Regions from separate parts of the Homo sapiens genome. Here region 1 is linked to region 2. Evidence: promoter capture Hi-C in human tissues and cell types (Jung and others, 2019). All regions are on one chromosome and are shown on one strand. The core of a region is centred on a gene start or on the middle of the fragment in contact, and the rest is flanking DNA. Distances in the headings are between cores, read along the strand shown. Region 1 has its middle 21 kb from the start of PPP1R9A. Region 2 holds the start of CASD1 (CAS1 domain sialic acid O acetyltransferase 1).

Region 1 (5,627 bases), core at 1,550-4,049, 380 kb before region 2:
TGAGGATGGGCTGGTTGGGCTTGAAGTCTTTGCTTGCTCCTGAGGCTCTGGCTGAGATCTCAGGACGTCCAACAAAGCTGGCAAGATAAGAATAATTACCAATGCAGCCACCTGGATTCCTACTTAGAGTCTAGTTAAGTGAGGCCTGTAAGGACCTCTTCCTAAGTTTAGCTTAACAGGAAAAAAATGTTCGTAAGAACTAGTTCTTTGGATATTGCAACTCTTGGGATTTTGATTTGAGTCATTTTGTTATTGATCTTTTCCTTCCCTGGGATGGTCACTGTTTTATCTTAATCTCTGTGTTTTGTGTCATTTCTCCATAAGGAGGAGAATCATAGAACACAAGAATAAGTCTTACAAGCCTATTGTTCAAGTCGGCCTCACAGACTGGTGAATTTATAGTTCTCACCAACCCAGCATTCACGTTGACAAACTTTGTCGTGGGTCACTGATTAAAAAATACCGGATAATGTTCTCCTTCCTTGTTTTGTGTTCTGAGAGCTTGGCTTGGATCCAGAGAGTGTTCTCTCTCTGGTGTTCTGCCTGCAGGGGGAGGAGAGTAGCAGGCACAGGTTCTTGGGCCTTTGTCTAGCAATGACTAGCTATCAGGATAGGGCACCCAAGACACAAGGTGCACAAGCAACCGTTTCTGTCTGACTATGCCAGCTCTCAGAGGAATTAGTCTAAATAATTTTGTTTTTTCCCTCCTGCAGTTTGCATTCAAAGAATTAGTCTAAATAAAGGGCCCTAGTCCATAAGGAGCCCTTGTCTCTTCCCACATTGCCTTGTCAGTACTGGGGAAGTCCCATCTCTGTATTGCCTGCCTGGTGTCAGTCTCATGGATTAGCTGGGCTGTGATTGGCAGCATCTCACTATTTGGGAGACTGGAGACATGACTTTTCACAAACACCATTCTTCACTGCCTGTGGCAATGAAGTCCTTTGCTTTAGTTCTTTTTAGCTATCTTTGGGAAAGCCTTTGGATCATGAGAGCTATATCTTCTGCATTCTCTTTGGGAATCCCTCTTGTGACCATGGTTAAGTCATAAAAAGGCTTATTGGTTTTGAGTCACATTAAGAATAGATACGCCTTTGGAGGTATCTATTTTTAAAGAACTTTAAATCCTTTTAAAAGGATTTAGCTCTCACCCTAAACAAATGTCCTATTTGTACCTATGGGAGGATCAAATTGAAAGAGGATGCAAAAAAGCACCGTGGCTAGCCTAAAAGACTTTCTTAACAAGATTAAAGAGCAGAAATCAGATTTAAAAGTTTTTATTATTTTTATTTATTTATTTATTTGACGAAGTCTTGCTCTGTTGCCCAGGCTGGAGTGCAGTGGCTTGATCTTGGCTCACTGTGACCTCTGGCACCTGGGTTTAAGCGATTCTCCTGCCTCAGCCTCCGAAGTAGCTGGGATTACAGGCTCGTGCCACCACGCCCAGCTAATTTTTGTATATTTAGTAGAGATGGGGTTTCAGCATCTTGGCCAGGCTGGTCTTGAACTCCTGACCTTGTGATCCACCCACCTCAGCCTCCCAAAGTGCTGGGATTACAGGCGTGAGCCACTGCACCCGGCCTGAAAGTTAAATTCCACACCCACTGTAAATTCCTCCTCTCACCTCCCTCCTATACTTCCCTTTACTCCAACTCCCTTTCCCCGACCCTATAGAAGATTTTTTTGAATCTCTGGATCTCTGCCTCAAATTCTCCTCTCCATGATCTGGCCCTACCTCCACAAAAATTACTTTAATTCCTGAAACTCCTCTGATTTTCCCAGAAAATCCCTCAATCACTCAACTGTCCACTTTAACTTCTCTTTCTTCGCAAGAATTGCAAAAAGTACTCTAGCCTGACCTACAGGTGTAGACATACACATTACTATGTAAATGACAATAACCACAGATAGTTCTGGCAGAGGCTCTGTGAATGCTCAGCAAGACTTATTTTACTTTCCCTTATAATCCCACCTTCTTCCTAGGACTCCGTAATCAGATCCCATCAGCTCCAGGTCTTCCCATGCAATATGCATTGTGAATGTATCCTGGATTCCCACCATGAAGAATTCGTTTACCCTGGACAGTAGCAGGTCTTTTAAATTTTATATCCCTCTTACCTCCACTTTCTGAAAATTCTATCAAATTTAGAAAGTATGTAGAAAGAATCGTGGCTGTCCATAGCTTGACTCATAGGGCCCACAACAGGTTTCCAAGAGGTTTTCTTCCCACTCATGATTATATTGTAGTTATTCAACAAGCCAGGCGGCCCTCTGGGGAAAATCCTCTTCAACAGGGAAACAGATGGCTAGTACCCCTCCTTGGACCCCCATGAATGACCAGGAATTGACACAGTTGGAGACTGACATTCAAAGCTTAATAAGCGTGATTGTGAGGATTTCTCCCTCTAAGGTTGAATTCTTCACTTAGAAAGAAGGTGAACATCAAGCTGAGTGTGGTGGTTCATGCCTGTAATCCCAGCACATTGGGATGCTGAGGCAGGAGGATTACTTGATCCCAGGAGTTTGAGACCAGCCTAGGCAACATAGTGACCCTGTCTCTACAAAAAAAATAAAAAATCTTCCAGGAGTAGTGGTACATACCTGTACCACTCACCTCCTACATACCTGTAGTCCCAGCTACTTGTGTGCCTGAGGTGAGAGGATTGCGTGAGCCCAGGAGGTCAAGATTGCAGTGAACAGTGATTTTGCCATTGCACTCCATCCAGGGCAACAGAGTGAGACCCTGTCTCAAAAAAAGAAGAGGAGAAGGAAGAAGAATAAGAATAAGAAGGAAGAGGAGGAAGAGAGGGAGGGGGAGGGGGAGATGAAGAATAGAAGAAAAGAAGAAGAAGAAGAGGAGGAGGAGGAGAAGAAGGTGAACAACCTAAAGACTTCATTCAACAATTTACAAAAACATTCTTTTTTTTTTTTTTTTTCTTGAGACGGTCTCACTTTCTTACCCAGGCTAGAATACTGTAACATGAACATGGCTCCCTGAAGCCTCAACCTCCTGGGCTCAAGTGATCTTCCCACTTCATCCCTCCAAATAACTGGGACTACAGGAGTGCACCACCATGCCTGGCTATTTTTGTATTTTTTTTTGTAGATATAGCGTGTCACTATGTTGCCCAGGCTGGACTTGACACCTGAGCTCAAGCGATCTACCTGCCTCAGCCTCCCAAAGTGCTGGGATTATAGGTGTGAGCCACCGCACCCAGCCAATTTATAAAAACATTCTGTTACAGTAGGTAGCTAGTCAGGCATGAGCAGGGTGAGAGAGGGCTCTGCCTGACCAGGAATGTCAGGCAACCATCAGGTGATGGTTAGGCAGTTGTTAACTGACTCTACAATAATGACTGGCCCGTAGCCAGCGCCAGGGAAAGGCAGCCTCCCTATAGTCAGAAAAAATCTGAAACTAGTGATCAGCAGCTTCCCAATAAGATCTCAGGAATTGGGCAAGTGGGCTCACACATGCACATTAAGAGGCAAAATGGTGGAGTTTAACTGGTATATGACCTTCTAGGAGCATTTGCTGGTAAGGGAAGAATGCCCCAAGTGAGCATGCATACGACTCCAGTAAACACACTGTACATGCTCCCCTCCCAAGTGCTGGCAGGCCACCCACTGCACATGTGGACAGCTTACCCCCAAAGGAAGAATCAGGGGAGAAGGGATGCAAGACCCCAGGAGTATGCCAGTGTACAAAACCCCAAGTCAAAAGGTCAAGCTATGCACTTGATCTCTCAAGTCACCCCCTTGGCCCTCTTACAATTGTACTTTACATCCTTTCATTCCTGCTTTAAGCTTTTCAATAAACTTTCACTCCTTTTCTAAAACTTGCCTCAGTCTCTCTTCCTGACTTACGTCCCTCAGTCAAATTCTTTCTTCTGGGGAGGCAAGAATTGAGGTTGCTGCAGACCCCATATGGATACAAATTCTCCACTGGCGCAATTCTAAAGGTACATTGCAGTAAATCCACAGGTTCCAGAACATAGGAATTGCTTAATTTCTGCCTTAGTTTGCAATCTTCTCTCAAAAGACAAAAGCAAAATACAGATGCTCCTCAACTTACAATGGGGTTACGTCTCAAATTCACTATAAGTGGAAAATATCCTAAGTCAAAAATGCATTTAATATACCTAACACTATCATCATATGAACATCAAAGCCTAGCCTCGCCTACCTTAATCACGTTCAGAACACTTATATAAGCCTACAGTTGGGCAAAATCATCTGTCAACAAAGTACCTTATATTGACCTAAAAGGAAGAAGCTGGCCGGCACGGTGGCTTACACCTGTAATCCTAGCACTTTGGGAGGCTGAGGCGGCTGGATCACCTGAGGTCAGGAGTTCAAGACCAGCCTGACCAACATGGTGAAACACCATCTCTACCGAAAATACAAAAAATTAGCCAGGCATGGTGGCAGGCACCTGTAATCCCAACTACTCGGGAGGCTGAGGCAGGAGAATCACTTGAACCCAGGGGGCGGAGATTGCAGTGAACTGAGATGGTGCCATTGCACTCCAGCCTGGGCAACAAGAGCAAAACTCCATCTCAAAAAAATAAAATAAAAGGAAGAAGCTGAGGCAAAATTAATATAAGTAGAGTTTATTTGGCCAGCCTTGAGGATTGCAATACAGGAGCATAGATTCAGATTGCCCTGAATATACACTCTGATCAGTAGCAGTTACAAGTGGATTTTTAAAGGCAAAAAAAAAAAAAAAAGATGGGCACAGGGAGCGGGCTGATACAAATTTGTTTGTTCAGAAATTCTCATTGGTTTATAGAAATAACATTGATTAGTGATTGTACATTGTTAAGCTATAGGGTATGGGTTAGCGTGTCCACTGTGGCATTATTGGGCTAATTTATAGCTACTTGTGGCAATAGCCAGAAGTTTCAAGAGATGAATACATAGCTCAAAGGTGGAGGAGGGAGTGATTGCTGTCTCATTTTAATGCCTCTCTGGGCCTAATAATAGGAAAGGGCTCATATTCCTCAGATGAAAGTTCTCTTTATTCCTCACCTGTGGAGTATCAGTTGTGGTCATCCTTGTGATTGTGTGACCGACTGGGTGCTGACACTTGCTGTTGATGCCCTACACCACAAGAGTAGCATATTGCTAGCCCTGAAAAAGATCATTCAACACTTGAAGTACAGTTTCCACTGACTGTATGACTTTCACACCATCATACAGTTGAAAAATCCGAAATGGAAACATTGTAATGAGGCAGGATAGTAACCAGGTAGTCAAGAAAGTAACTATGTCCTCAGGATTCAGCAACAATGCCGCCCCAATAAGCCCAGTGTTTGCATTGTAGTCAAGCTCATTCAAGCAAAACTATCTCCAGTAGGAAACCTCCCCTGTAGAGAGCATGTGCATTGTGATTTGACCAGTCATCAGACTGACCCTTTGCTTATTATAACAGTAAAAATCACACCCCTGGGTGGAGCTTTAAAATATTAATGAGACATGTGATGTATAAACAAGCATGTACAGCTACTGTGCATGTGCACCCAGAGGACCACCCAAAACATGCTTCCTAGCAACCTCTTCCCACCCCCTTATGAATAATCATGTAAGCCTCCATAAAGGGAGTTTCCTTAGTAATGGTCAATGCTGTCTCA
Region 2 (5,133 bases), core at 2,115-4,614:
AGAAGAAGAGGTTTCACCATGTTGGCCACGCTGGTCTTGAACTCCTGACCTCAGGTGATCCACCCGCCTCAGCCTCCCAAAGTGCTGGGATTATAGGCGTGAGCCACTGCGCCCGGCCTGAATTACTGTTTCTAAGTTGTTTAACCCATGCTTCCCTGGAAAATGCTTTCTCCCTCTATCTTCTATACTCCCCACTGTCTAAGAAGTTCTGAGAAAGACAGACTGTAACATAAGGCATGAGACAGACTAACTGGGATCTAAATCCTAGCTCAGTCACTGTGTATCCTTAGGCAATTTAATCTGTCATGCTTCATATTTAAAATGGAAATAATACTGTAATTCACTGAATCTAAGACCACTGATTATTAGACACATGATTATTTTATGTCACAGTAAGAAAAAAATGTTACCAATTAAACTTTGACATGCAATCAAAGTTTTAAAGACTCACCCTGATTACAAAGATGTTAAAAATAGTGGAGAGGAGTGAAATATGGTAATTGTATCTACCTCATAGAATGGTTATAAAGACAAAATGAGTTAAAACATGTAAAACCTTTAGTAGAACAGTCCCTGACATATAAGTGCTCAACGTTAGCACACAGTATTCGCCAAGCTTTACTTTCTGTAGTGGGTAATTCTTTCCTTTACTTTCGGTAGTTTGTAAAGCAAGAGATACTGAATATGTATATCCAAACTGCATTCACTCTACCTTGCCTCAGCACACTCATACTCACACATTCAAAATCCAAATACACAGCCTAATCTCCTTCATCTAATGTAAGATCCTTTCTTATTCTAAAGCAAGATTTTCCAAGCCATGGCCTGGGCTGCTGGAGGCCCAGGATGGCTTTGAATGCAGCCCAAATTCGTAAACCTTCTTTAAATGATACGAGATTTTTTGCAATTTTTTTTAAGCTCATCAGCTATCATGAGTGTTAATATTATGTGTGGCCCAAAGACAGTTCTTCTTCTTCCAATGGGGCCCACGGAAGCCAAAAGATTGGCCACCTCTGTCCTAAAGAGTTATAATGTGAGTCAAATGTATGATTATCTTTGTGTGAAGGGCATTGCACCTGACTCAGTTTGATACTGCCAAAGCATGAGGATATTCCTGGTAAGATGTTTATTTTTCCCAGTCTTCAGCTCAAATTCTTGACATTCAGTCTGGGCAAGTACACTCACCAGGTGTATGCTTCACACTCAAGGCACTGAAGTACCTATGGAAACTGATGACTTACTTCTGGAGAAGGCTTTATAAACAATCCCAGATTGCTACACTGACTCATAAGTCCCCATCTGACATTCTATTCTCCCTGCTGATGACAGATCTTGATAAGATGAAATCTATAATCTAAAAATAATAGTAGTCCAAGGTTATCAAAAGATAAAAAGCACAAAAAAATAAAAGGAAGGGGACTAGATGTTTATTTATCTTAGGACAATAGTACTGTAGTTATAAAATTTCTCTCTACTACCATTACATAAATTGAATTAAATTACTGTTCTTTTATACCAAATTGGCATAAAATGATTAATAGTAGTTAAAAGAAATATTTCCTCAAAACCACCACAAATCAATGCATCAACATTGCTAGTTTTACATGATTGTAGATAAACCAAGGCCTTGCAAGGTCGTATGGCTGTGATCTGGAGAGAGCTGGAGAGAGGCCAAAAGGTTATAAAGAATCTAATTTTTAAAATCAATTTAGTATACTAAAAGCTGTTCACCCAGTATGGCTCTAGAGTACAATATTTTTAATTCTCAAGAGTTGGAAGAAATAAAGCAGCAAAACTGACCAAAATTGAAAGATCTCCTGGGATGAGAATACAGCGCAGACTCCAACAACCCGTTTATGGATATTTTGCCAAAGTAGGTGTAAATTTAAACGGGCACAGCGCTAATTTGCACCTGTCCATTACACATTACATCTTGACTGATTAATCTCACAGTCACCAAGAGCTGGCCAGATAATGGCTTTGATAGTATTAAGAGCCAAAAATAAAAGATCCTATCATTATTAATTTCCCTCTGCCTGTCAGCCTCTCTCCCAGTGACATTTTTACAAAGGAAAAAAAACAATCAATCAGCAAGGAGAAGTAAATATCCCTTGATTACTGAAAGATAATTCATTCTCAAATCAGGTCATATTTCCTTTTCCCCTTTACACCAATTTCAAAACCCATGGCCAAGGCCTGCTTTCAAAGTGCTTACAACTTGCTTTCAACTGCCCACCTTTACGCCTGTCAACCCACAACTTCCTTCCAAAAATCTGCTCTGGTGCCTTAACTTTGTAAAAAGTGTGCACTCCGAAGCCTTTAAACGTTTCTGCATCACAAAAGCTGGGTGGCACCTCTTCCATTTGGCCACAGGCATCTTTTGCCAGCTGTCGCCCTTTTGGCAAAGGAAAATGGGGGCGGCCCTTGCCGCTGTCCAACAGCCCAGACTGGGTGTTACAGGGCAGAGGCAAAATTAAACAAAGGCTAAGGAGCCGGACCCTTAAGAGGCAGGACCTGCGACCCCACTGCTGGCAGCGGTGCCCCTTGCAGGGCGGCCTTGGGCTTCATGCGCCCCGGGCTGCCCCCAAGGACCGCCTGTCCGACTTCCTGCACGCGAGCCCCTGATCTGGAGCGTCTCCCCGAACCCAGACCGCTCAGGAGCCGGACCTCAGCAGCACTTTTGGCCAGGTCCAGGGTTGGCGCCCCCGACCCCAGCGCGGGCGGCTCGGGGCGCCCAGAACCACCAGCCATTGTCCTTTGGTGGCCCCCACTGGGGTCCACTCAGTTGGCCTCGGGCGCCGGCCGCTGCTGGGGACACCTGGGGGAACCGCCTCCCCCGCGGGCCGGGCCGGCGGAAGGCCGCGTGGGCGTGTGTTGGGCGATGGGGGCGGCCTCCAGCCGCCGCGTCGCCGCCTCCCCCACGGCCTGCCCGGGCAGAGGGGAGGGCCCGCTCACCTCGGTAGCGGCGGGAGGCGAGGTGGCACGCTGCGAGCAGCAGCACGGCCACCAGCGCCAGCACCTTGGCGCTCCTCACGCTGAAGTAGTGGTTGATCTCCCGCTTGCCCAGGTTGTAGGCCAGAGCCGCCATCTTGGTTCCTCCATGACAACAGTGCGCGGCGGAGCGGGAAAGGGGCGCCGCACAGGGGCAGCACTGGGGCTGCCGCCGCTGCAGCCAGGCGAGGAGCGGCCGCCAGCTCCCCAGGCCGCCACCTGCGCCTCCCGCCGGGGAACCTGACCCCGCGGCCGCGGCGCCCCCGACCTCCGCCTGCCCCTCCTCGGCCGCGGCCGACTCGGCGGCCTCCCCCCAGCCCCGCCGCCGCTGCTCCGCCGTGCCGGTTCCCCAGGCGCCCTGGACGCCTGTCTCCTCCCCTTCCTCCTCCTCTTTAGCCTCCTGCCTTAATAGCGGCTGCGCCTGCGAGGGGGGTCCGGATGCCCAGTGCTCCGGGGTCACCGGGTCACGCGCCCCGGCGGGCGGCGGCGGCTGCGGCAGAGCCATGGGGGTGTGGGGAGAGAGTACTAGGGGTACCCGCCTGGCCCGGACGCGAGCCTTAGGGCTGTCTCCTAGTTTACTGGCCGCTACCTGAGCCCAGGTTGGGGCAATAGAACTACAGTTCCGGGAGAAAAGTACACATCGTCCCATTCCTTCCTTCCCCAACACTCCCCTTTCTCAGCCTTCTACTGCCAGAACCCGCCCAGCGGGATGCGAAGGACACCCTAAGGTCGTTTATTGTCTGGCTATCCGTGGCCTGGCTGGTCAGTCTGGCTGCCCCTGGGTGCTGGCCAGATTGGATTGATGGATCCAGTTGATGGTGCTGGCCGATGGATTGCTGGCATCCAACCCAGGAGTGAAACCAGTCTTAACACTTAACTCACCGCTCTGGCCAGTTTCTCTTAAACCGTTTTTTTAATGTCCTCAGTTTGCCCAGTTCTGGTGGGCGAAAGTACACCAAAGTTCCGAATGGAAGGTACAGAAGGAGCCTAACTTAGTGTAGGTGTTGATGAGAAAAGAGTCTGACTCTCACTTGTATTTACGCAAGTTTGGCTAGGTCGATGTGCCAAAAAAATTCGTTTTTTTTGAGAGGGAGTCTCACCCTGTCGCCCAAGCTCTAGTGCAGTGGCGTGATCTTCGCTCACTGCAGCCTCCCCCTCCTGGGTTCAAATGGTTGTCCTGCCTGAGCCTGCCGAGTAGCAGAGATTGCAGGCGCCCGCCACCACACCCGTTTAATTTTTGTATTTTAATAGAGACGGGGGTTTCACCATTTTGGTCAGGCTGGTCTCGAACTCCTGACCTCAAATGATCTGCCCATCTCGGCCTCCCAAAGTGCTGGGATTACAGGCATGAGCCACCAAGCCTAGCCAAAAAAAATTTTTCTTAATGTGCTTATGACAATCATCCCCGCTACTAACGTTGGTTAATGTTTTGTGATTCTCAATAAAGCCAGCACTCCATTTCCTTAATAAAGCATTGTTATCCCTACTCTCCTCTCGCTCCCACCCCACCTTTTTTAAATGGTTTTTCTTGTTGCCTTCCAGATGGGAATGGTTATTTACATTGCTTGCCATTCTACTTGCCTTGCCTTGTTTAGAGTGAGTCATTGTTTAGTTGGGGTGTTGTCAAGTATTCTTTACAACTTTCCCATTTAGCCATTCCTGAACTTGTGCTTATAGGCCCCTCTTAAAATTATAGAATATTAGATATGAAGGGACTGTAGAGATCTTGTCTACTCATTCCCATTCTCTTCATCCAAGGACTCTTTATTATGTTTTCATCCATGGACTTTATATCTTGAAAGATTTTGTCACTTAAATGAAATCACATACATCACTGTCATGGATGTAATGCTAATAAGCAATAAAGTTAAATAAGTGTACAAACACTTAGGCACTGTTCCCTGCAAATAGTCTTTTAATTTTGGCTGTCATTCTGATCAGAGGTTGATCACATGTTGTAAGAATTGGGTATTGTAAAAACCAGATAACTCTGCCAACAATATATGGTCTGCCAATCACATCCTAGACATTTCTATGATGTCATTACCAGCAAATTAGAATTTCTGATCAGCATGCAATAACCAGTGTTAACCCAAAGGGTTGAGTTAATGCCTGCAAAAAGTAAAGAAACTTGACATTCTA

Evidence for each region. Contacts are between HindIII fragments. The study calls those that stand out against the background at their distance.
Region 1: a contact is called between a fragment that was not itself captured here and the fragment with the promoter of CASD1 in region 2, in 2 of the 25 tissues and cell types used here (H1 embryonic stem cells and mesenchymal stem cells).

What each region holds. Positions count from the first base shown.
Region 1 is chr7:94,883,654-94,889,280 of GRCh38, reverse strand. No RefSeq gene overlaps it. Among named protein-coding and RNA genes, the nearest start is that of PPP1R9A, 21 kb to the left of the region's middle. The HindIII fragment of the contact is 4,674 bases long and covers 463-5,136 here.
Region 2 is chr7:94,508,040-94,513,172 of GRCh38, reverse strand. It overlaps CASD1 (CAS1 domain sialic acid O acetyltransferase 1), which reads right to left and starts at 3,364. Exons shown (of 18, transcript NM_022900.5): 1 at 2,956-3,364. The coding sequence starts at 3,088. RefSeq lists silencers at 2,701-3,060, 3,161-3,310, 3,351-3,570 and enhancers at 2,104-3,090, 3,091-4,079. The HindIII fragment of the contact is 12,724 bases long and covers 201-5,133 here.